Linked DNA regions of Homo sapiens: all the other regions are linked to region 1. The links are contacts of gene promoters, found by promoter capture Hi-C in blood cells and fetal thymus (Javierre and others, 2016). All regions are on one chromosome and are shown on one strand. The core of a region is centred on a gene start or on the middle of the fragment in contact, and the rest is flanking DNA. Distances in the headings are between cores, read along the strand shown.

Region 1 (3,581 bases), core at 524-3,023:
TTGAGAAGGTGACATTTAAGCAAAGTGTGAAGGCAGCTGGCCAAGGCCACCAACCACATTGGGAAAGAGCATTTAAGGTAGAAGGAAGAGCCAGTGCAAAGGCTCTGAGGCAGGAGTTTACCTAGTGAGTTTAAGAACAGCAAGGAAGCCAGTGTAGCTAGAGGTGGGAGAGAGGAGAGAGAAGATGAGGTCAGAGAGGTAACTCATGTAGTGGCAGATAGAAGACTTGCCAGATCATACAGGGCCTTGCAGGCTATTCTAGAGCTTTTGAGAAAATGAGGAATCACTTGTATTAGGCCGGCTTAAAATAGGGCCATCTGTATAAAAATAATTCCTCTTTAAATTGTTTCCTTAAACTTAGGGGTGTATACAAATCACCCAGGATCTTGTTAAAATTCAAATTCTGACTTAGTAGGTCTGGGGAAAGGCCTGAGATTCTGCATCTTTAACAAGCTTTCAGGTGATATCAGGCTGCTGGTCCACAACCACACTTTGAGTAATGAGGTCCCGGGGCTTTTGGGCTTATCTCTCCACTAGCTGGTTACAAGGGCCTTTTTGTTCCCTTTGAGCCTGAAAAGACCACCTCAAAAGGTTTTTCTTTATATTTTTACATTAGCCACAGGTCCCCTCACTGTTCATGGTCCTATTACCTCACTAGTAAGAGCGTGGTCCAGGGCTGCCTCCGGGACTGTGGGGGAGGTTGTCCGGCTGTTTCCATGCACAGTGTAAGAAGTTTCTAGGGCTTCTGCAGTGCCACGTGGAGGCTCTGCTTCTGAACCTCAATCTGCTCCCTGAATAATAATTTCACCTCTCACCACATTCTTGTCTTACTCCAATTACAGGAGCTCTAATACAGGTCTTCACTTCTGGTCCTATACCTAGAGTGATAGTCCAGATCTGTAAACTGAGGCAGCTGGGGGACTCGGGTGATGTTCCCAGGCAGAAGAGGTGGTCAGGTGGTCCACGGAAGCCTGTTTGTTAAGGAGCAAGGCTGATTTCTTAAGAGCCAGCCCAGTAATTGACAGTGGAACAAGTCTGGAAGGACTTGCCATTTCCAAATATAAGGCATAGGATACGGAGTCCCATGGGCTTGAGTTTGAATTGTGCTTCCATCCCTTACTGTGTAACCTGGGGAATGTGCCCGGGTGTCTCTGAGATGCAGTTTTCTTATCTCGAAAATGGGAATGATATCAACACCTCCTTTGTAAATTGAGATAATGCATTTAAAGCACCTAGTAAAGTGCCTGGCACAAATGATACAAAATACTAGTTGCCATTATTTTTATAATTTCTACTATCATCTTACTGCGTACCAAATCGCTTTGACGCCCGGCATTATAGCATCCACCTTTACGTTCTCTGGAGTTAAGGTACCAGAGCAAATCCCTCAGCAAAGGTGTTCAAAGAGAGACACACACGCCCGAGCACTTTCTTCATGACAGATGCCACAAGAGATAACTGGAGGAGCTGAAGATGTTTAGTTTAGAAAACAGGTGATGGGGGACAGGTGGTGATGGCTCTTAGCGTTGCCTTGTTCAACGAGACCCTGAGAGCACGATGAGCCCGCGCGGAAGAGATGAAATGGCAGCACCCCCGCGAGCGCATATCAGAGAAACTCGCCGAGACCTAAAGCGAGTCCGCGCGAGATGGGGGTGGGAGCGCCCGCGGGGGTCGTCTCCTGCGCAGCCGCAGCGGCGGCGCCAATCACCGGGCGCATCACGTCCTCTCGCGACGGTACAGTTGTACGTTCGTGACGTCGGCGGTTGCCGTGGAGAGACCCGCTCGGTCCCGACCGAGAGCTGGCGTCAGGAGCCGCAGGGTCACAGCGTGTCTTTGAAGCTGCCTCCGCCGCCACCATGAGCGGCCGAAGTCGGGGTCGAAAGTCCTCCCGCGCCAAAAACCGGGGCAAAGGCCGCGCCAAAGCCCGAGTCCGCCCTGCTCCGGACGACGCCCCGCGCGACCCGGACCCTTCACAGTACCAGAGTCTCGGGGAAGACACCCAGGCGGCACAGGTGCAGGCTGGCGCGGGGTGGGGTGGCCTGGAAGCCGCTGCGTCCGCGCAGCTCCTCCGGCTCGGGGAGGAGGCCGCCTGCCGGCTCCCCCTGGACTGTGGCCTCGCGCTGCGGGCCCGAGCTGCGGGGGACCACGGGCAGGCCGCGGCCAGGCCCGGCCCGGGGAAGGCCGCATCTCTCTCGGAGCGCCTGGCCGCAGACACTGTCTTCGTGGGAACAGCGGGAACCGTGGGAAGGCCGAAAAATGCCCCCCGCGTTGGAAACCGGCGTGGCCCTGCCGGGAAGAAGGCCCCAGAAACCTGTAGCACCGCGGGGAGGGGGCCTCAGGTCATAGCTGGTGGGAGGCAGAAGAAAGGGGCGGCAGGGGAGAATACCTCGGTGTCAGCTGGGGAGGAAAAGAAGGAAGAGAGGGATGCAGGGTCGGGGCCCCCAGCGACGGAAGGCAGCATGGATACGCTGGAGAACGTGCAGCTGAAGCTGGAGAACATGAACGCCCAGGCGGACAGGGCCTACCTTCGGCTCTCCAGGAAGTTTGGGCAGTTGCGACTGCAGCACTTGGAGCGCAGGAACCACCTCATCCAAAATATCCCGGGCTTCTGGGGGCAAGCATTTCAGAACCATCCCCAGCTAGCATCCTTTCTGAATAGCCAAGAGAAAGAGGTACTGAGCTACTTAAACAGCTTGGAAGTGGAAGAGCTCGGCCTTGCCAGATTGGGCTACAAAATCAAGTTCTACTTCGATCGCAACCCGTATTTCCAAAATAAGGTGCTCATCAAGGAATATGGGTGTGGTCCTTCTGGCCAGGTGGTGTCTCGTTCTACTCCAATCCAGTGGCTCCCAGGGCATGATCTCCAGTCCCTAAGCCAGGGAAACCCAGAAAACAACCGTAGTTTCTTTGGGTGGTTTTCAAACCACAGCTCCATTGAGTCTGACAAGATTGTGGAGATAATCAACGAAGAATTGTGGCCCAATCCCTTGCAGTTCTACCTTTTGAGTGAAGGGGCTCGTGTAGAGAAAGGAAAGGAAAAAGAAGGCAGGCAAGGTCCAGGAAAGCAGCCAATGGAGACTACTCAGCCTGGGGTGAGCCAATCCAACTGATCCTGCACAAGTCTCCCTGCTACCTCCTGCTGGGCTGCTCCTGGTTGACTACATATTTGGCTCTCTGCCTTCTCTTCATGTTGGCCTCTGTGTACTATAGACCCTTTGGACTTTAGTTACAAGAATATGGCATTTATGATCATGTTCTTTTGCCTCCCATAGCCTCTTGCTTTTCTACGTTAGTGTCACATGTTATGTGATCGCACCCGGACTGTTCATATGTTAAGCACACATACTTTAGATGTGTGCTCCCTGTTATCTACATTGCCTGGACCTTGTTCTTGGCTCTGGCCTTTCCTACTTGTCTTTAACATGGACACTCATGAGTCATCCTCCAGGACGACCAGTGCATCCTCAAGCTCTGCTCCTTCAGGGCCAGTGACTTGCTGGGCTTCGTGTTCATGCTGGCCATGCATGTCATCTATGCAAGCGTTTCCATTGCCACTGCAGAATGAAGCCAGTGCACATGGT
Region 2 (3,581 bases), core at 654-3,153, 990 kb after region 1:
TTTTTAACGTGTCATAATGATAACGAAAATACACCACGTAAAAATTGAACTTTAGAGGAAAATGTAAAGCCTTAAATAGTTATGCTAGAAAAAAGAAGAAAAGCACCCAACTTCAGTAATTAAAAGAGAACTCCCCTCCCCAAAAATATATCGGATACTACATAATTTAAATATTAAAAATTACAAAGCTTTTCAGAATGTTGGTTCCATTTCTAATATCTTTGTTTTTGATTATACGTATTTCTAAGTAATTTAATATCTTATCATATGACTGCATGACAATATGATAATATAACATTTACTGGGAATCTCTACATTTCACATCCTTTCTTCCCAAAATTAATTTGACAGGCAGTAGTAAGAGTTGGCAAATATTCACCCCCTATTATCAGCCAGCTGAAAAAAATTCCTATAAACTATAATAGTTTTAAATTCCAGAAATGATACTTTCTGAGAGCAAAAGAGCTTCCCTGTCTCTTCTGAAACCCACCACACATCAGATTTCCTTCTCAGATAAAATGCATTTCAACTTGCAAAGCTGAACAAACATTTTTAAGAATTCTATTTTTTGAGAAGCAGTATGATGTGAGATTATGCTGTGTAAATGGGAAATCTGGAGAAAAGAGGATAAAATTCAATAGGGTAAGTCAAGATAAGGCTTTAAAAGAAACAAACTGCCCTGCAATAAGATGAAAAGTTTCTTCCCGGACTCTGGAACAGCACGTTCTTGTCACAGAGAATCACAGGCTGACAGAGGGAAATGCCCTTAGCTGAAGCAGGTTGTATATTAGGTTAAGGAGCAGGGCCACGTCCAGTCAACCTCAAATGTCTCAACCACCCCACCCTCTTCTTTACTCTGGAATACACTGTGTAGGGTTAGATAAGGAAGGGGTAAGATCTGTTTTTAGAAGGCTGCTCTTAAAGTAATCACAGCTTGCAGATAACTCTGGAGGACTTTACACTCTATTAAGTAGCTCTATGCTTTGACATGCGGAAAGGCATTTTAAAAATCATAAAGACCAATCCGTCTATTTGCAGTATAGTTAGTAATGAACAGATTTGCCAATTATCCCCTCATAAGACCTGAGGTCCTTGTCCTGGAAGGGCCACAGGGCATTGCAGTTTAAAGCAGCCAGAGAGCTGCATGCAGGCAGAACCCTGGGAACCAGGAGGAACAGGCTTTAACTGAAGACAGTGTAGAGCTGAAGCCTGGAAAGGGGGTCAAGTGGACAGGTGCATGCCTGTGAGCAAAAGATGGGTAAAGACAGATTCTGCTGACTTCCCAACTGGTCCTAGGCTGATCTTGGCGGCCTTACCCTCTGCCTTGCTTGCTGGACACCTAACCAAATACCAAGTCCTATTCACTTTACCTCCCCAGGTTGTTCTTTTATGCATCTCGCTGCCACTATTATTTCTTGCTTAGACTTCCATAATAATAGCTTTTGAAAACTGTGGAATGTGTCAGGCATATAACAAAGTATAGATGATGCTATAATAAGCACCTAGGTATTCACATCTAGCTTACGACTACAGAGAGATCTTGAAAATCATAATCAGATCACGGAACGTGCATGCATGTGTGTAAGGGTGTCTGGGGCAGGAGGTGGGAAGAAAGGGGTTGGGTAGCATGCCCGTCCCAATGTAGAAGGATCTCCACTACTACACACGCCAGGTCTCCAGCCCAACTATCTCTTCACTCCTCTCTGGGGCAGTTGCTGACTTTGGAAGAAGAAAGAGATCCAACCTCTTTTGGGTCCTCTTTGGAAATTATTTGCTTACAGACAGCACAGGTTCTCATCAGCTCCCCCAGCCATGCAGCAATTTTTGTGGGTCAGGCCCTGCTTTGCAGAAGCAGCTTGTGGTTGTCTAATGGGCTAGGGGAAGACAGGCTTGCTTAATTCAGCCCAGGTCTAAAGCAATCTGCTCCACTGAGCTTTCACAGGAAGAAATCAGCTGAGATTTTGAACTCTTGTTTCTGTTTCCAAACTCAACTAGAAATGGAGGTATTTATTGATTGACCTCCTAAAACATCAACACAGGTCATGTAGCTCCTCTGCTTATAAACCTTCCATGGCCTTTTCATACACTTAGAATAACACCTAAACTCCTCATCCCAGCTGGCTCAGCCCTGGCAGCCTCCTAGCCTCAGGCAGGGCCCTCTGCCTCATGATCTGGTCCCAGCTCAGACTGGTCCCAGCTCCCCACACCCCCAATCAGGACCTCTACACAGACTGTACCATTTTTAACTATCGTGCTTCCTTGAATCTATGACACGTCTTTTTCACACTGTATTGTTTTGAGAATTAGGGTGACTATTTCAATATATTACAATGTATAGCACTTTAAATATAAGGTTTCTTTTCTTTTTTTTTTTTTTTTTTTTTGAGACAGCGTTGCCTAGGCTGGAGCGCAGTGGCACCATCTCGGCTCACTGCAACCTCCGCCTCCCGGGTTCAAATGATTCTCCTGTCTCAGCCTCCCGAGTAGCTGGGATTACAGGTGCGTGCCACCACGCCCAGCTAATTTTCATATTTTTAGTAGAGACAGGGTTTCACCATGTTGGTCTCAAACATGGTCTCAAACACCAGGCTGGTCTCAAACTCCTGACCTTATGATCTGCCCACCATGGCCTCCCAAAATGCTGTGATTACAGGCATGAGCCACCATGCTCAGCCCCAGGTTTCTTTTTTTCTCCTCCAAAAAGTCATACCTATAATTGATGGTGCATCTTAAAACTGATGTTGACCTCACAAAGCCATGACCAATCTTAACATTATAAAAAGCGAGACCACCAGACACTGTGTGCCTCCTAGTGTGATACGCAGCACCAGCTATGAAGCAGTCCCACTATAAAAACTGATCTGGAATCTAGAATCTCATCCAGCCCCTACACCTGAGTTCTACTTTATAGAAGATATAGGGGGACAAAAAGAACATGTTAAATGATGATACTGCAAATGCAGCTGCAAAATCCAGATGTGAAAAACCCTATAGAATAAGCAATGTGGTTTCTTTGACAAATAAATTTTCAGGACATGATGAGGGGAATTACAGATGAAAAGAGATTTAAAAGACATATCATATGCAATGTGTAAACCTTGTCTGGATCCTATTTTGAATAAATCAACTATACAGAACATTTACGAAGCGACTGCAGAAATGTCAACACTCACTGCGTACTGTTCACTGTTCAGTGGTTATGCCAAAAAAAAAAAAAAAAAGAAAAGCCCATCTATTTTAGGTTTAATTCCTGAGAACTGTTTCAAAATATTCCAGGATGTGGGATGAAAAGGTGGAACAAGTTTGGGCCTGTGTCAATAATACTGACACTGGGTGATGGGTACATGAAGTTATAGATTCTCTCTACTCTTGCATAGGTTTAAAATTTTTCATAATAAAATTCTAAAAAGCTGTTGAAATTGTCTTAGGGTTCAATAGCCAACAATTATTTGTTTAATTTGCCTTCTAGTAGACTCTAAGCTCTAAGAGGACAGGGAACATGCCCACCCTCTCCCCCACTCCCACCAGCATGGGATGGTGTCTTATGCAGAAGAAAAGCTGGGTCAGCATTAATTAGCCAA
Region 3 (3,581 bases), core at 766-3,265, 960 kb after region 1:
CAGAACACCCTGAGTTTATTATGAAAGATTTCTGAATATTCAACTAGACTTGAGGCCCTCTATCTTTTTTTTTTTAAATAGAGTCTAGCTCTGTCACCCAGGCTGGAGTGCAGTGGTGCAATCGCGGCTCACTGCAACCTCCGCCTCCCGGTTCAAGCAATTCTACTGCCTCAACCTCCCGAGTAGCTGGGACTACAGGCGCCTGCCACCACACCCAGCTAATTTTTGTATTTTTAGTAGAGGCGGGGTTTCACCATGTTGGCCAGGCTGGTCACCAACTCCTCATCTCAAATGATCCACCCACCTCAGCCTCCCAAAGTGCTGGGATTACAGGCATGAGCCAGCCTGAGGGCCCTTTTAAAAGCATGCTGATTGGCCGACTAAAGCTGTGTTTCTCAAACTTTTGTGATCTAAGACCCATTAAGAACCATAGCAAGAAACACAATTTTCACTGTGATCCAGTATACGCATGCGTGTACACACACACACACACACACACACACACACACACACACACACTGAAACAAAAGCTTCATAAGACAATTTGCATCTTTATTCTGATATTTTTCTATTCTGTTTCATTTTAAGAAAATACTGGCCAGAACCCAATCACTGGCTTCATAATGACCTAAAGTTTTTTCTGTTTTTTTGTTTTAATTTTTTGAGACCGGCCCTGACTCCATTGCCCAGGCTGGAATGCAGTGGCACAATCTTGGCTCATGGCAACCTCCACTTCCCAGGCTCAAGCAATTCTTCTACCTCAGCCTCCCGAGTAGCCGGGACTACAGGCTCACGGCACTACGCCCAGCTAATTTTTGTATTTTTTGTAGAGACGGGGTTTTACCGTGTTACCCTGATTGGTCTCGAACTCCTGAGCTCAAGTGATCCACCCACCTCAGCTTCCCAAAGTGCTAGGATTACAGGTATGAGCCACTGCACCTGGTCAACCTGAAGTTTTTCTGAAGACCGTGCTTTTGAGTTAGCAACTTAAGGATATGATTTGTGCCAATGTGCTGAGGAGTCTTAGCTAAGCCATTGTCCGTGTGTGTGGGCACATCTCATGAGAAGGTGGCTAGGAGGAGGTGAGGGGGCCGGCTATGGGATTACATAAGTGTGGAGAGTCCCAGACTGAGGCCTGGGCATGGGAAAGGCACAAGGAAGGGCCAGGAATCAGGGGAAAGGGCTGAGTTGAGGTCAGGGTAACATGGACCTGGAAGGCCACCCGTAGGCTTGGCTTTTAGTCTGAGGGGATCCTAGAGGGTCTAGAGCAGAGGGTTTAATACAGTCTTCTCTCTCTCTGTCTCTCTCTCTCTCCATATATATATACACACACACACACATATATATATACACACATATATATAGACACATATATATATACACATACATATATATATATATATTTAGACGGAGTCTCACTCTGTCACCCAGGCTAGAGTGCAGTGGTGCAATCTCAGCTCACTGCAACCTCTACCTCCTGGGTTCAAGTGATTCTCCTGCCTCAGCCTACTGAGTAGCTGGGACTACAGGCGTGTGCCACCACACCTGGCTAATTTTTTGTATTTTTAGTAGAGATGGAGTTTCACCATGTTGGCCAGGATGGTCTTGACCTCCTGACCTCGTGATCCGCCCACCTTGGCCTCCCAAAGTGCTTGGGATTACAGGAGTGAGCCACTTCGCCTGGCCAGTTTGCTTAATGTTTTTTTAAAATTTTTTTCAGCTTTTATTTTACATACAGGGGGTACATGTGTAGGAATGCTACATGGGTATATTGGACCCAGGTAGTGAGCGTAGCACCCAGCAAGTAGTTTTCCCACCCATGCCCCGCTTCCTCCCTCCCTAGTAGTCAGCAGTGTCTATTACTCTGATGTTTATGTCCATGTGTACTCAATGTTTAGCTCCCACTTTTAAGTGAGCATATGCGGTTTTTGGTTTTCTTTTCCTGCTTAGGATTATGGCCTCCAGCTGCACCCATGTTGCTACAAAGGACATGATCCCATTCTTTTTTATGGCTGTGTATTATTCCATGGTGTCTATGTACCACATTTGCTTTATCCAGTCCACCACTGATGGGCACTAGGTGGATTCCATGTCTTTGCTATTGTGAACAGCATGGTGATGAACATTCGAGAACCTTCTGCTGGCTGAACAGAACTCTGTGAGAAGACAAGAGCAGAAGCAGGGAGGCTACTGTACTCATCCAGACATGGGGACCCGGGTCAGGGCTGTGGAGATGGTGAGAAGTGGTAGGAACCCAACGATCACATGGGCTCCTTTAACCACCAGCCATCGCCCCCACCATTACCTCTGGCCCACTGGAGGGAGTTCCAATCAACAGCACCCTTCCAGAAGGCTGACATTACTTTTCTACCAAGACTCAAAGAGTGGCTAGTTTAGGGCTGAGGCTGGAGGCTTCAGCACAGCGGGAGCCTGTATTAAGCCTGCCAGTGTGAGAACACATACCTCCTCCTACTTCCTCACCCCCAGGGGTGCTGGGGTTTCCTCCGCACAGCTCAGCAATAGGTCCCTTTACTCAGTTCAATTTAAATCTCTCTGATCTTTCCCAGGCTAAGCTAGGTGGACAAATTGTGGCTTAATGGAATTCAGTCAGGGCCTCCACTCCCTTTGATGCCATCCACCATCCTGTATCTTGGTTTAGCAGGGTTAAAAGGCAAATAAACATTTGGGCAGCCTGAGGTGCTTCTGCTGGGAGCAGGCACTAGAGATTCCTGACCTAGGGCTGGTTACTGGTGCACATACTCCCAGCACCCCCGACTTGTGGAGCCAGTTCCACAATGTGGGAAAAAAGATGATGTTAATGTAGAGCCCAGAGTCAGGAGCTCTTCGGTGAGTTGAGTGGAACAGGCATGGTGGCAGGGTTGTTGTAGGAATCTGGGGCATGAAAGCTCTAGGCTCGTGTGTGTGAGCTGGGTGTATGAGCCAAACTTGAGAAGCAGAAGAAGAGATTTTGGCTTGCCAACAAGCCTGCACGTGGATTCTGAGGATGCCACAGGAATGCCATGGACATGGAGGCCGGGTACCTGGCTGCTGCATCCCACACGCACTGCTCCATGGCTGCACAAGCAATCCCTGGATGGCTGAGAGTGTGGGAGACCCCCTCTCCTGGCAGCCAGGGCCCAGCCTCCAATAGTGGAAATGAGATGTGTATCCATGTTAACTCAATGACCACACAATCACACAGGATGCCAGGAAGGGTCCTCCAAGTTCAGGAGTGAGCTTCTAGTTCTGATTAGGGTGGGCAAAGACACCTTTTTGGAGGAAGCAAGAGCTAAGTGTGGCATAAACAATAGATACAATTCCTATTGTGCTCCTGTCAACTTTCTAACTTCCAAAGAATCCCCGGCACAAGGAGGGAAGGGGAGAAGCGGGTCTTGGATGGCAAACTCAGAACTGTTCTGCTTACTCGTTTAGATACTTAGTAGGATTTGGGGCAAGATGCCATTTGAAGAAAGGGGATCGGCTGCTAAAAAAAAGCTTTGTAGGCCAGGCGTGGTGGCTCACGCCTGTAATCCCAGCACTTTGGGAGGCTGAGGTGGGCGGATCACGAGGTCAGGAGATCG
Region 4 (3,581 bases), core at 557-3,056, 940 kb after region 1:
TAAGAGGGTGGTTTGCAAACAGGGACCATGAGATAATTTACAATCAAATCATTTCAGATATTGAATGATGATTCTGAAACACGCATTCTATTTCCATCAATGTGAGGTTTATTTCCATAGAAACGGTGAAAAAAGTAGGCCAAACCCAGCAGTATGGCTTCTAAAAGGAATAGCAGCTGTGGTTCTGGCCAGCCATGGAAAGCACTGGTTTTGTAACTACTATAGTAAAGAGCTCTGACTGAAGGGAAATAGAAAGTTTCAACTCAAAGAAAGGGCATGGAAAGTATCTGAGAACTTTCCTGGCTGTTTCTTACAAAGCCATGGAGAAAAAATCATCTCCTGTGCACCCTGCTCTTCACAATGCCACAGTAAAGTCGAATTCACCACCTGCGAAACAGCTGCCTCCTGTAGGCTGGCCTCAGAGGAAGCACACATGCTCCATCAGTTGCAACAAGGCGAAAGTCAGAAGAGTGTGAAAGTGTCAGGCCCAGTGCTCCCGGAAAATGAACCCGGAAACACTCAGTGAGGCACCACCGGTGTGAGAAAGAAGAGACAGGTGTCTTCTCCAATGGGCACAAGTATGTCATGCTTAGAAAAGCAGAACACAGGATGAAACAAAACATATTTATTTGCAAAGAAAGATCATGTTTAAATTGTACCTGTGTTTAAAAATGGCCTCTTTGATGGGTTATAAAAGTGCAGGCAGGTTTTATGAAACACGCACTTTGCCTCTCTTCTATCCTTTTGTGGGAAGCAGGCAGATGCTGGCTGGAGGACATTTGAGAGCTCGGAGCTGAGGCTCATCACAGCCAAATCCCTCACTCACCAAGTGAGCGGAGCTGCCACTGACGCTTCTCCACTCCCGCAGAATCTACTATTGAGCACTGGGCCCCCTGAGGACAGGATGTGACCCTGGCTGGCATGATTCATTCAACCCGTTCATCTTGGAATTCTTTTGCAGAAAAAAAAAAAGTGACACTTCTATGGCTAAAGATTTCCTTAAAGAAGAAGAAACATCAGAACGAACCTTTGTGCTGTGTGAAATGAGGGAACAAAAGATTACTTTCAGTGAGTTGATATCTGTAAGCTAATCAACTGGGTACTGGCCTCTTGTTAGAGGAAAAAAAAGTCCAACTTGGAAACCATTACCACAGGAAAAAACAATGACTATGTTGTTCATTCCTGTTGGTCACTTGGGTAGTCTAAGAAGTAGGACATATATGTCTGTAAGCCCTTTAAAATACACATCTTTTCTTTTTTCTTCTCACTATGTAAAACACATATATATTATCCTAAAGTCACTTGAAAAACACAGACTGCTTACAATCAATAGAAGATACCAGTAAGATGCAAGAAAATGAGCATTTTACAGACAGACCTTTGATAGGCTTTAAAGTGAATCGTTTTTATTTAAAACAGGGATCCATCAGAGGTGGTGAACTATCAAGGTCAAGGTTCTAGAGCATGGCACAGATGAAAGGTAATACTCACCAGCACCTCACATGGGACTCAGTGACAATGTCAGCAACACACCATGGAAGGAGAACAAACCCGATGTAAAAGGCACCTAGCTGGGGAGAAGCTGTGGTGTTCACTGCCTCTCTAGCAGGTTTGCTTTTGTGCACTGTGGCTAAGTCTGGATGAATAATATTGGGAAGGGAATAATCGGAAGCGAGGCTCCTATGCAGGCAGCTACCCTCTCCTGATTGGTGTATACTCGCCATGTGGTAGGAGGTCTTACAGGAGACTGAGGTTACCAAACAGGAATACAACACCTCTCTCCCTTTTCTGCTCTAGAAGGAAGGGGAACCCTTCCCCCAGTATCAATTTCAGCAGCGGCTTCTAAAGGCTGTTAAAAAGCATCCTAACTTAAAAACAAATAACAACAGTAACCAAATAAAAGACAGAAAAGTGGCCTGAACTTAAATCAATCAATGGAAAGGTAGATTCATAAAAATAAAATAAAAACTGGTGACCAGTCCATTAACCATGGGGTTAATGCCTCGTCTGAAGGAAGATGTTTACGCTGCATCCACGATCCAGCAGGCGCGGAGCTGCTCTTGGCAACTGTGAATGAATAGCTACCGTTTCCCTTCAACACACCGCGCTGCCACCGGTGACCGCATGTCAAGTGCTGAAGTTAGAAGAGACCCCACGTTGGCAAAGGCCCCCCAGGCGATGATCTGCCTGACGCGGCCAGGTCTGTGGGAAACAAGACTTACGATCTCAAATAATGACCCCCAAGTGCCCTCGCCTCTTCCTGCTTGCCCTGTGCGCCTCGACCTCCTCACGGGGAGTTCCAAATGAGTTCCATTTCCCTCTCAGTTCTAGGCACTCTGGAACATCTTTGATTAACCAGGGTTTTTCATTTCTTTCCAACGCCATTGGTGACTTTTGACTTGGAATGCCGATTCCTTCTCCTGGAAGAATGGCTTTCGTTGTTGCCTGCATGCTTGGGTGGGCTGTCTTCAGAACCTGGCCAAAGGAATCAGAGCACACCGTCACCCTGGGCTCTGGAGATTGGTGACTGTCCCTTTCCAGACCGCCCTAGGCTTGCCGGGGAACAGGTTCTTCCCTGATACGTGCACTCCCCCTAGTGGCCTCATTCATAAATGAAGGCGAGGCTCTCAAACACAGAACTAGTACTGAAGGAGCACACGCGGTGGCGCGGGGTTCAACGCAATAGCGCCCCAAAGTCTGGGTGGTTCCTGAAGCGTGTGTACATCTGTCCTGTGTATGATGGACATGGTCATGATGGTGAGGACCAGAAGTGAGAGCACAAGTGAAACGGAAGCCCAAACGAGGGGCAATTAAAACACACACCACGCGGTGCCCATCCTGCCCTGCAACCAAGGGTTTCCATCCCTTCACCTGCTCCACACCACCTTCTAAACCCGACATCAGGAAAGACTCTTGACACTATAAAATCAGAGCTATTTCACACCCTCTACATTTGATCTGGAGAACATCTTTACAATTCAGGCCCCTGCTGCCCACGATGGAGGGCACTGGGCAGCCTCTGCCCTCCAGCTGAGCCTTTGTTCAGCCCCTGCCTGGCCTAGCGGCCAAGCCAAAGGGTTCTCTGCCCCAGGGCTCTGATCCAGCCCCATAGGAAATCTCCACCTGAGGCTGCCAACAAAAAAAAAGTTACCAGAGTTACAGTCTCCACTGTAAGGAGCATTTGACTTAGACTAAGAGATTCTTTCCCCACTCAGAAGACTTCTGTTTTTGTTATTTTTCTTTTTTTATTATTCCATCAAGTAAATACATCTCTACTACTGCTTAATTCTCTTCAGTGGAGAACCTGTAAGTGCCAAGGTTGTTTGTAAGGGCATGGTTCTAAATAAGATAGCTGGGGAGCCCCTCTGTCCATCTCTATCAGATTTCACAACGGGCCGCTCACTGATCAATTCCGTGGTTCAGGAGAAACTTTCCCCAAAAGGGCGGCCAGCAGCTCAGCAGAGTGTATGTTAGTGTCTCCCCTGGGAGATCTTTAATGAGCCTGATGCCAAAAGAACTTAGGAGAATGACTGCAACAGGGCGCTTTCTTCTCCATTGGCCCACCGTTTCTCTGAGCAATT
Region 5 (3,581 bases), core at 597-3,096, 930 kb after region 1:
CCCTAATAGTGCCTACCATCCATTGAAGGGGGAATTCTTTTGGCATAAAAAATTCAAGCATCCAAGTGGAGGCCCCTTCCCCTCCCCTACCAAAAAACAAAACTTGAAAAAGAGCTCATTCCCAAAGTTGTTTCTTCAGAATACAGAACCTACTTGAAACAAAGTTTAACCTTTCTGGGGTTCAAGTTCATTTATCCTTTGCATATACAACTTCAGCAGCTTCTTTATTTCTAAGAACAAAGTCTTGTTAAAAGGAAAAAAGTCTCTACAGTCTCCTTGGACATCAAATAGTTCTTCAGAGAAAACGCTTTGATGAGCTAAGTGTAAATGAGTAAGAAACATACGGATTAGATTTCTCATATAATACACATGGATTTAAGAATTAAAAAGGAAAATCTTTTTGGAAAACGTGGTTTGGATTTGGATTCTGCCTACTCCACAGACACTGATTAAGTTAAAAATGTGGATTTTCCTTGTGTCTCACTCCCCATCTTCAGCCTCAGGAACTAGCACCCATTCTTTCTCAAGAGTGATGTTGGATAACCAAAGGCCAAAGAGGACTTCTAAATAAGGCACACACAGATTACTAATGTTCGAAAACCACATAGGTTTTTGCAACAGACTCTCTTCCCAGTAGATTGGGTTTTAAAGCACATTTTAGAAACACCTCTCTTTTGGCTGCGGTGGCTCACTAACCATGAGTAAGCCCCAGCCCTGTGTTTTGGTGAGCTAAATACACCACCCTCTGGTAACCAGATTCTGTGGCTGGTAATCCCATTGCAGGAGGCCCCTTGCTACCCTTGGGTAGATGATTTTACCAGCTGTGGCCTTGATATGACATTATGCATGTGCCACAAGTTGAACCCAATTGAGAATGTTTTCTTTGAGTCAGCACATGCTTTCATACAGTGTCGAGCAGAGATTAAATGGGGTTAGAAAGGTGAAAGGAGTTGACACAGTACAGGGCACATGGAAGGTGCTCACTGCATGGTGGTTCTGTCTAGAAAACATTGAAAATTGACTTTTGTTACCTCTGAGGATCAGAACTGCTCCTCTGCACAGTAAAAACCCTGCACAGTTTTACTAAGGGGGGTGCTGGCTGCAAGAACCAGGCAGCCCTGCTTCCTGGCACTGACCACGCTGGGTAAACACGTCTCTGTCCAGGAAATTGGAAATCAGGTGAGAGATTCTACTTAATGGCCACTGCAGCTGGCTGGAATGTAGAGTAAGCCACTTTTCTCCTTGGGCAGAGAGAGAGCCAGTAGAGAAAGCCCGGCTCAGACAGGAAGAAGGATGAAGCAGAAGCACAGAGAAAACAGAAATGAGAGGCCGAATCCTCCTCCAAATCAGCACCAGGTCCCCTCAGTGCTGCTCCCACGTGTGGGTCTTCTTTAAAAACCAGCTTTATCAAGACATAATTCATGTACTGTGCAATTTACCCGTGTAAAGTGCACAATTCCACACCACATGCAAAAATCAACTCACAGTGGATTAAAGACTTAAATGTAAAACCGGAAACCATAAAACTCTTAGAGGAAAACAGGGAAAGAACTTCCAGCCATTGGACTTGGCGATGATTTCTTGGATATGACACAAAAACACAGGTAACAAAAACAAAAAGAGAAACATGGGATTATATCACACTAAAAAGCTTCTATATAACAGAGGAAGCAACCAACAGAGTGAAAAAGCAAACTACAGAATGGAAGGAAGTATTGGCAAATCATTTATCTGATAAGAAGTTAATATACAAAATATATAAAGAACTCACACAACTCAATAGCAAAACAAAAACAAAAACAAAAACAAATAACCCTATGTAAAAATGGGTAAAGGACTTGAATAGATATTTCACGAGAGAAGACATACAAATGAACAACAAGTATATGAAAAGGTGTTCAACATCACTAATCATCAGGGAAATGCAAATCAAAGTCATGAGCTAGCACCTCACATCTGTTAGAATGGCTATTATCAAAAAACTCCGAAAGATATCAGTCTGTGAGTGTAAAGGTGAGGGTGTGAAGAAAAGGGAAGCTTTGTACACTGTTGGTGGAAATGTAAATTGGTGCAAACACTATGGAAAACAGTATGGAATTTCCTTGAAAAGTTAACAATAGAATGACTGTATGATCCAGCAATCTCACTTCTGAGTATACATCCAAAGGAGTTGAAGTCAGGATTCTGAAGAGATATCTGTACTCTCATAATCACTGCAACATTACTCACAATAGCCAAGATATGGAATCAACCTAAGTGTCCATTAATGGATGAATGGATTAAAAATGTGGTACATACATACAGTAGGATATTAGTCAGACTTTAAAAAAGAGGGAAGTTCTCTCATTTGCAACAACATAGACCTGGAGGAAGTTATGCTAAATGAAATGAGCCAGATACAGAAAGACAAAGGGTGCACAACCCCACTTTTATGACAACTCTATAATAGTCAAACTCATAGAATCAGAGTAGTATAGTGGTTATCAGGGGCTGGGTGGGGAAGATTGGGGGGGTATTGTTCAAAGGGTACAAAGTTTCTGATATGCAAGATGCATAAATCTGGAGATCTACTGTACAACATAGAGCCAACAGTTACAATACTGTATTGTATAATTAAAAATTTCCTCAGAAGGTAGATCTTATGTTAAGTACTCTTGCCACAAAAGAAAAAAATTTAATTAAAATAAATAAATACATAAAGGAGGCAGAAGGCAACTTTTGGAGGTGATGGATAAGTTTATGGCTTTGATTGTGGTGATGGTTTCTTGAGTGTATTCTTATCCCCATTAAATACATACAACTTTTCGTATATCAGTCATACTTCAATACAGTGGTTTAAAAAATAAGGTATACAATTCAGTGGTTTTTACTATATTCACAGATATGTGTAACCATTACCACAGTCAATTTTAGAACATTTTTATCAGTTCAGAAAGGAACTCTTGTACTTTTTAGCTATCACTCCACCTCCACTGCCCCCTCCCTGTAGTCCTAGGCAACCACTAATCTACTTTTTTTTTTTTTTTTTTTTTGAGATAGGGTCTTGCTCTGTCACCCAGGCAGGAGTGCAGGAGGACAATCATGACTCACTGCAACCTCAATCTCCTAGGCTCAAGCCATCCTCCTGCCTCAGTCTCCTCAGTGGCTGAGACTTCAGGTGCATGCCACTATGCTGGGCTAATTTTTTTGGTTGTTTTTTTTTTTTTTTTTTGTAGAGACGGGGTCTTGCTATGTTGCCCAGGCTGGTAGTGAACTTCTGAGCTCAAGCAATCTTCCTGCCTCAGTCTCCCATTAGTACTGCCCACCACTAATCCACTTACTGTCTCTACAGGTTTTCCTCTTCTGGAGTTTCATATGAATGTAATCATATAACATGTGGCCTTTTGTGACTGACTTCTTTCAAGTGGCATAGTGTTTTTAAGGTTCATCCACATTGTGGCATGTCAGTACCTTATTCCTTTTTATGGACAAACAATATTTCATTGTATGGATGTACTACAATTTGTTTATATTTGTTTACCTATTCATTAACTGATGGACACTTGGGTTGCTTCCACCTTTTGGCTGTTGTGAATAATGCC
Region 6 (3,581 bases), core at 719-3,218, 910 kb after region 1:
TCCAGACTAAGAAGTGCCCTGAGAGCCTGGTGGGATCATCTTGGTGCACAGACCCAGTATCCAGGGGATCTGAGTGGCCAAGGAACACCCAGAACTCCTGCCTCCCATAAGTGCAAGGCTGAGCATAGCAAAGTATGAAGAGGGAAGGCTCTTCTAACACTGAAGTACGTAGGAGCAGACTTTTCAGTAAGAAGAAAAGTCCCAGAAATTCAGATTAGATTATAAACAAATTATAAAGCGATAAGCTGGCTGAAACAATAATATTCAAATTAGTTCAATTCAGCAAGTACATATGAGTGCTTCTGTGTGCCCATCCTGGGCTAGTCCACTTGAGGGAATGGACACAGGAGAAATGAACAGGGTTTAAAGGGGAGGTATTTCTTCAGGCACAAAGCTCTGCAGATGGCTGCCTCTCCACTGGGCACCCCATGACAATTCACACAAGATCTCTCCCAAGACCTCTCAAAGCAATTCTTTTAAGACCTCAGTCCCTGCCCCCAAGCAGCCAGGAGTCTGTTTCACTGGTATCAGATCAAGCAGACCCTTCCTGAAGCTTTTGTAGAGAAATGGAAGTGATTTGGTTAAAACAGGGAATTTCGGCTGGGTGCAGTGGCTCACACCTGTAATCCTAGCACTTTGGGAGACCCAGGCGGGCAGATTGTCTGGGCTCAGGAGTTTGAGACCAGCCTGGGCAACATAGCTAAACTCTGTCTGTACTAAAAATACAACAACAACAACAAAAAAGTAGCCAAGCTTGGTAGCATGTGCCTGTAATCCCAGCTACTTGGGTGGCTGAGACATGGGAATCACTTGTACCTGGGAGATGGAAGTTGCAGTGAGCCGAGATCATGTCACTGCACTCCAGCCTGGGCGATGGAGCGAGACTGTCTCCAAAAAACAAAACAAACAAACAAACAAACGAAACAGGGAATTTCAAAGATGAAAGCAAGAGCAAAGATGGAGAATGGGTTGGAGGTGGAAGAAACACAGAAGTAAGAAGTAAAGGCTAGTGAGGAGAGTATGAATACTTTAGGCTCTCTGAGTTGATGGCAGCAAGTAGAGCCAAGGGGCAGGGAGAATGAAGACATAGTCTCTACTGATTGGATGTAGAAGAAATGAAAAAGAAGAGTCTAAGATGACCTTCAGTAGGAGTGGTAGAAGGGTGAATGAGGAAAGTCAGTAGCTCAGAAGAGAAGCATTTGAAGAAGGAAGATAACAAGTTCAGTAATTTAAGACTCTATCTTTTCTTTCCTGAACTCTTCCTATAGTATCCCTGTTGGGTCCCCCTCTCCAGGATTTGTTCTCCAGTCTACCCTTTGCACTGGGTTTCTAAAAGGCAATCTTTACTGGATTATTCTCTGCATCCAGCCTCACAGTGGTTGCCACCACCTTGAGGTGAAAGGCCAAGGTCCAGAGCATGGCATACAAGCTCTTGGAGCTCTGCCTTTCCTATATCTTAGCCTTATATCCTGCCATTCTCCTTCTTGGGCTCAACATTCCTGCCATCCTGAAATATTTGCATTGAAAAAGAAAGCCAGTTTCATGTGTCAGTGCTCTTGTACTTGTTAACCTCACCGTGAAAATTTTTTCCTACCTTTCCTGGTTGAACTTCTCACCATCCTGTACCAGGTGGCTAAAAACCCAGCAAAGCACTCCCTAATGGTCCTCTCCACTCTCCCAAGGAAGGTTTGTTCCAGAAATGCAAGGTCTGATTCAATATATGAAAATTATTCAATGTAATCTTCCATATTAATGGCTAAAGGAGAAAAATCATGTGGTCTTGTCAACTGATACAGAAAAAGCATTTTAAAAAATCTAACATGTATTCATGATAAAAACTCTTAGAAAAAATGGATTAGAGGGAAACTTCCTCAACTTGATAAAGAGTGTCTACCAAAAGGCTCTAGCTAATATTGTTTTTAGTGGTGAAGGACTGAATGCTTTCTCCATAAGATCAAGAACAAGGCAACAATGTCTGCTCTCACCACTCTTATTCAACATAGTACAGGTAGTTCTGGCCAATTTCAAAAGGTACAAGAAGAAAAAAAAGCATGCAGATGAGAAAGGAAAAAATAAAACTGTCCCTATCTGCAGATGAAATGATTGTTTAGGTAGAAAATTCCATGAAATCTGCAAAACAACAACCTCCTAGAACTCATAAGTGAGTTCCTCAAGGTTGCAAGATGTAATACAAACATACAAAAGTCAATTTTATTTTGGCATCCATAACAGATGGAAGTTATAGTACTTGATACAGGAATTTGGAATCTTAGAAAATGGACCTTAGACCACCACAAGAGGGATCTCCTAATTCTCTCTCACCCCATCAGTCTTTCCTGAGAAGTCTAGCTATGCTGGAATACTACCAGCTGGGAAGGTAGTATATGGTGTCCATAACAGACACCAAAATAAAAAATAAATGCCATTTACAGTTGCTAAAAAAACCCAAGTATAAATCTAACAAAACATGTACAGGACTTCAATTGTACATGTTTTGTGGCAGAAAACTACAAAACATTGATGAAATAAACCAAAGAAGATCTAAATAAATGGAAAAACATAGTGTGTTTGTGGATTAGAAGATTCAATATAATAAAGAAGTCAATTATTTGCCAATTTACATAGAAGTTTAATGCAATTCCTATCAGAATCCCAGCAAGATTTTTGTAGATATAGACACGATTATTCTAAAATTTATATGAAAATGCAAAGGAACCAGAATAGCTAAAATAACTTTGTAAAAGAATAATAAAGTGGGAGGAATCAATCTACCTGATTTCAAGATTTATTATAGAGCTGTCGTATTTACAGAGTGATAGACACATAGATCAATGAAACAAATAGAGAACCTAGAAACAGACTCACAAAAATATGCCCAACCAAAAGGTACAAAAGCAATTCAGTGGAGGAAGGATAGCCTTTTCAATGAAGCTCAACTTAAATCTCATATATTTAAAGAATTAACTCAAAAATAGATCACAGGCTTAAAAGTTTTACACTATAAAACTTTTAGAAAACAAAACACAGGAGAAAATCATAGGTATCTAGGGCTAGGCAAAAAGTTCTTAGATTTGCCATCAAAAGTCTGACCCATAAAAGAAAATATTAATGGTTAGATTTCATCAAAATTTAAAACTCTTGCTGTGTAAAATGGCCCATTATGAGAGTGAAAAGACAAGCTTCAGAGAGCAAGAAAATATTTACAAACCACATATCTGACAAAGGGCTAGTAGCTAGATACATAAAAATCTCTCAAAACCTAACACTAAAAAATAAAACAAAAGCAATACAATCAGAAAATGTGAAAACGACATGAAGAAACACTTTACTGAAGAGGATATATGGATGGCAAATACGCATTTGAAAATATGTTCAACATCATTAGTCATTAGGAAATGTGAATTAAAATCACAATGAAATATCACTATGCAACAGAATGGCTAAAATAAGAAATAGTGACAACACCAAATGCCAGTGTCAATGTGGATAAACTGTATCTCTCCTATAACTGTATCTCTTCTGTATCTCTCCTATATTTTTGTGTAAACATGTTTCCATTTCTCTGGATAAATACTCCTAGG
Region 7 (3,581 bases), core at 291-2,790, 860 kb after region 1:
GCAGGCTGGTCTCAAACTCCTGACCTCAGGTGATTCACCTGCCTCAGCCTCCCAAAGTGCTGGGATTACAGGTGTGAGCCACTGCACCCGGCCTAGAACTTTTATTTGGTACTAGTAATACTAGTAGATTGCTTCCCTAAAACAAGCAGGGAAAGGAAGCAAAAAGCCCAGAGAAGCGCCCCCACCACCCTCCACCCCCTACCCCCATTAAAGTACAGAGTGAAGAGAGGCAGGGACTGGGGCTGTACATTTTGGACCCTACAGACTGGTCCTATCCCTGGCCTTGCTGACATCTGTAGGTGATCAAGGTGAAAGCAGAAGACCCTTCTGTCTCCTCATTCTCTCAGCTGCTGAGCAGCCAAATATGGGGAGCTGCGTGAATGTTTATTTCGCAGGAAGTTCTGCTGCTCCATCATGATGTCTCCTGCTTATATTTCTGTAATTAAATGTCATCTCATTGTGCATGTACTTGTTGTGCTTAAGCCCCAAGGCTGTTTTAGTAAAGGGTACAATTTTGTAAATCAAATGGAGAAAAATAAACGAAACCACCTGTTCTGTGAGACAGTGTGCTGCCAAGCGTGGAGCTCTCCTGTCCCTCCCTGCCTCCTCCAGAGTCCAGGAGGGGAGGGCAAGAGAAGCCCCCAGGATGGGGGGTGAGGAGTGTAACCACTTCAGTGAGGGGTACCTTGTCCCTATTCAAAAGTAACTCTTTAGTAGGGGGCTCACCACTGCAGGGCCTTGGCTTTCAGTGGGCCAAGAACAGCTGTTGTGACAGGCGGGGACAGCCACTCAGGACATGAGGGAAGTCAGGCTGCAGAAGGTGGACAGCCCAAGAAGTCCCTTAGGCTCACATATGGGAAAGCAAAACTTATGATTGAATAATTCCAGCCTTTGCCTCGCCCATTCTCACCTTCTGTTAAACAAAAAGCTGTCTTTTCCCTCTCAGGGTCTCTCCTTCCTCCCCCATATGGAGAACTCCGTGTTTGCCAGCCTGTCTCCTGGGATTTCAAGATGCGGCATAAGAGTAGGTACAGAGAGACAGGACAAGAAACATAGGAAGGAAGAGAGAGGGAAACTAAACCGACTGGCTTGTGGGCTGGGCTTTGGGGAGCATTCTTTGTAGAGTTGAGAGGGAGATACAAAAGCAGTCTTAGGTTGGGAGAGAAATGGATTTGTTTCTCCTCTAAATAATTTATCGAGGAGAAATTCACATAACATAAAGTTAACCAGCTCTACGGGAACAATTCAGTGGCATTTGGCATATTCACAATGTTGCGCAACCAACCACCTCTGTCTCATTCCAAAATGCTTCCATCGCTCCAGGTAAGGGTATTTTAAGGTGTGTTGATGTGGATTATGCATTTGATCCCTTAATGTTTGTCAAGGGACGGAAGTGAAGATTGGAGTATATTTTTAATAACTGTTGACTTGTAGACTTTAACCTAGCAAAACTGGGTCAGGTGGACCCAAGGGGTTATTTGGGTTCTGTACAGCCATGGCCCCCAGGGCAGGAGACCTGTAGGAGTGCCTCACCCACCACCACATTAGGCTCTGTGCTCCCAGGTTTCCTACAGTGACTTTGGTACCTTGGTATTCTTAATGACCTGATCTTACCAGGTTACATGTTGGTGGGTGGGACGCACTCTGTGATATATCCTGCACCTATATGCTCTAAGACTGAGAGTCTGACCTCAGTATCCTCCAAGAGAGGACCCCACCAGCAGCCTGGTGTGAGCTTTGGGTTACCTCAACCCCTGAAGCAAGCTGAACTACTCATTCTTCTCCAAACATTCCCTGAAGCCTCCCACCTTTGTCCTTTCTGGTGTCTACACCAGCTTTCCCCCAGTTCTTTACTCCCAAATAACCAGATGCTAACAGTTTTTAAATTTTCTTATTGCTCATATAATATCTGATATGTGATTATGCATGCATGCTTAAGTACATGTACTTTCTCTCTCTCTCTCTCTCTCTCTCTCTCTCTCTACATATTTGAGTTTTTTGTTGGGTTCATTGCTTGCTTTGGAAAAATTGGATCATGTATTCTCTGCATCTTCTATCTCTCATTCAAAAATATCTCATAGAAGTTCCTCTCAGTCCCCTGGTATGTTTCAGATTCATTATTTGTGTTGGCAGCATTGTAATCCATAATGAGGCTCCTTCATAATTTATCCAACCCTTTCTCTATTGATGGATATTTCCTGTTTTAAGTTTCTGTCCCTCTAAACAATGAAGCAAGATTGTTGTACAATATATATCTTTATATACCAATGCTTTTACTTCTATTGAATGGATTCCAGGGTTGAAAGTCATGTGTATTTTAAAATTTAGTGTATATTGCTTTCAAAAAGGCTGAAACATATTTTCGGCAGCAAAATATGGAGTACTTTTTACCCTCATCCCTAGTAGCAACCGTTGCTACCCCTCGTTTTAATTTTTTTGTAGTCTTATAGTCATGAAGCCATATTCCATTGTAAACTTAATTTGTAGTTTGCTGACTCCTGATGAGCATGAGCATCTTTTTCAACTGTTTATTTGGCAGAGGGATTTGCTTTTTCTGTGTATGTTGTACTTCAATACAAAACTTTCTTAGAATTTAAAAATCTGCTGGGTTTATGATTGGGATTGCATTACGTTTTTAATTTTTTGGAGAATAAATTTTTTATGAGATTAACTCCTCTCAACAAATTGCATAGTATTAAAATGTATCCCTATTTTGTTTATGTTTTTTCCCCATAGGATTGTTTTTCACATAGTCCTGTACCTCTCTTTTATATTTATCCCTCAATGTTTTATAGATTTTAGCTGGGCACAGTGGCTCACGCCTGTCATCCCAGCACTTTGGGAGGCCAAGGTGGGCGCATCACTTGAGGTCAGGAGTTTGAGGCCAGCCTGGCCAACATGGTGAAACCCCATCTCTACCCAAAATACAAAGATTAGCGGGGCATGGTGGCAGGTGACTGTAGTACCTGCTACTCAGGAGGCTGAGGTAGGAGAATCACTTGAACCCGGGAGGTGAAGGTTGCAGTGAGCTGTGATTGTGCCACTGCACTCCAGCCTGGGGGACAAGAGCGAAACTCCGTCTAAAAACAAACAAACAAAAACAAAAAAAATTTTATAGATTTTTATCACTAAAATTAAATATTTTTCTCATATATATTTCTTGATGAATATGCTATAGCAGATAAATGATTAATTTAATATGCATTTTGGTGAACCTTGCCACCTTACTGAAGTCTTTATTAATCTGAGTGTTGGGTTTTTTTGTTTTTTGAGACGGAGTCTCACTCTGTCACCCAGGCTGGAGTGCAGTGCTGCGATCTCAGCTCACTGCAGCCTCCACCTCCCAGGTTCAAGCGATTCTCCTGCCTCAGCCTCCCAAGTAACTGGGATTACAGGCGTGGGCCACCACGCCAAGCCAACTTTTGTATTTTTATTAGAGATGAGGTTTCGCCACATTGGCCAGGCTGGTCTCGAAATCCTGACCTCAGGTGATCCTCCTGCCTCTGCCTCCCAGAGTGCTGAGATTACAGGCATAAGCCACCATGCCTGGCCTAATCTGAGTGGGCTTTTTTTGTTTTGTT

What was found. Contacts are between HindIII fragments. The CHiCAGO score rates a contact against its expected background, and 5 or more counts as called.
Region 2: a contact is called between a fragment that was not itself captured here and the fragment with the promoter of TSPYL5 in region 1, in 1 of 17 cell types (neutrophils). The highest score is 5.1, in neutrophils.
Region 3: a fragment that was not itself captured here is called in contact with the fragment with the promoter of TSPYL5 in region 1 in 1 of 17 cell types (neutrophils); the score reaches 5.0 in neutrophils.
Region 4: a contact is called between a fragment that was not itself captured here and the fragment with the promoter of TSPYL5 in region 1, in 8 of 17 cell types (megakaryocytes, M0 macrophages, neutrophils and 5 more). The highest score is 9.4, in megakaryocytes.
Region 5: a fragment that was not itself captured here is called in contact with the fragment with the promoter of TSPYL5 in region 1 in 1 of 17 cell types (neutrophils); the score reaches 7.3 in neutrophils.
Region 6: a fragment that was not itself captured here is called in contact with the fragment with the promoter of TSPYL5 in region 1 in 1 of 17 cell types (neutrophils); the score reaches 8.1 in neutrophils.
Region 7: a fragment that was not itself captured here is called in contact with the fragment with the promoter of TSPYL5 in region 1 in 3 of 17 cell types (monocytes, neutrophils and erythroblasts); the score reaches 8.7 in monocytes.

Annotation. Positions count from the first base shown.
Region 1 is chr8:97,276,120-97,279,700 of GRCh38, reverse strand. TSPYL5 (TSPY like 5) reads left to right here and starts at 1,773. Exons shown (of 1, transcript NM_033512.3): 1 at 1,773-3,581. The coding sequence starts at 1,857. The coding sequence ends at 3,110. The region is part of intron 2 of LOC101927066 (a long non-coding RNA gene); the gene reads left to right. RefSeq lists an enhancer at 2,235-2,736. The HindIII fragment of the contact is 4,352 bases long and covers 456-3,581 here.
Region 2 is chr8:96,291,093-96,294,673 of GRCh38, reverse strand. The region is part of intron 4 of PTDSS1 (phosphatidylserine synthase 1); the gene reads right to left. Among named protein-coding and RNA genes, the nearest start is that of PTDSS1, 31 kb to the right of the region's middle. The HindIII fragment of the contact is 3,426 bases long and covers 191-3,581 here.
Region 3 is chr8:96,314,817-96,318,397 of GRCh38, reverse strand. All of the region lies in intron 9 of PTDSS1 (phosphatidylserine synthase 1), which reads right to left. Among named protein-coding and RNA genes, the nearest start is that of PTDSS1, 55 kb to the right of the region's middle. The HindIII fragment of the contact is 2,965 bases long and covers 533-3,497 here.
Region 4 is chr8:96,332,351-96,335,931 of GRCh38, reverse strand. It overlaps PTDSS1 (phosphatidylserine synthase 1), which reads right to left. Exons shown (of 13, transcript NM_014754.3): 13 at 1-2,475. The coding sequence ends at 2,366. Among named protein-coding and RNA genes, the nearest start is that of PTDSS1, 72 kb to the right of the region's middle. The HindIII fragment of the contact is 3,661 bases long and covers 1-3,581 here.
Region 5 is chr8:96,350,793-96,354,373 of GRCh38, reverse strand. No RefSeq gene overlaps it. Among named protein-coding and RNA genes, the nearest start is that of PTDSS1, 91 kb to the right of the region's middle. The HindIII fragment of the contact is 386 bases long and covers 1,654-2,039 here.
Region 6 is chr8:96,367,963-96,371,543 of GRCh38, reverse strand. No RefSeq gene overlaps it. Among named protein-coding and RNA genes, the nearest start is that of PTDSS1, 110 kb to the right of the region's middle. The HindIII fragment of the contact is 2,426 bases long and covers 756-3,181 here.
Region 7 is chr8:96,414,792-96,418,372 of GRCh38, reverse strand. No RefSeq gene overlaps it. Among named protein-coding and RNA genes, the nearest start is that of SDC2, 77 kb to the left of the region's middle. The HindIII fragment of the contact is 5,596 bases long and covers 1-3,581 here.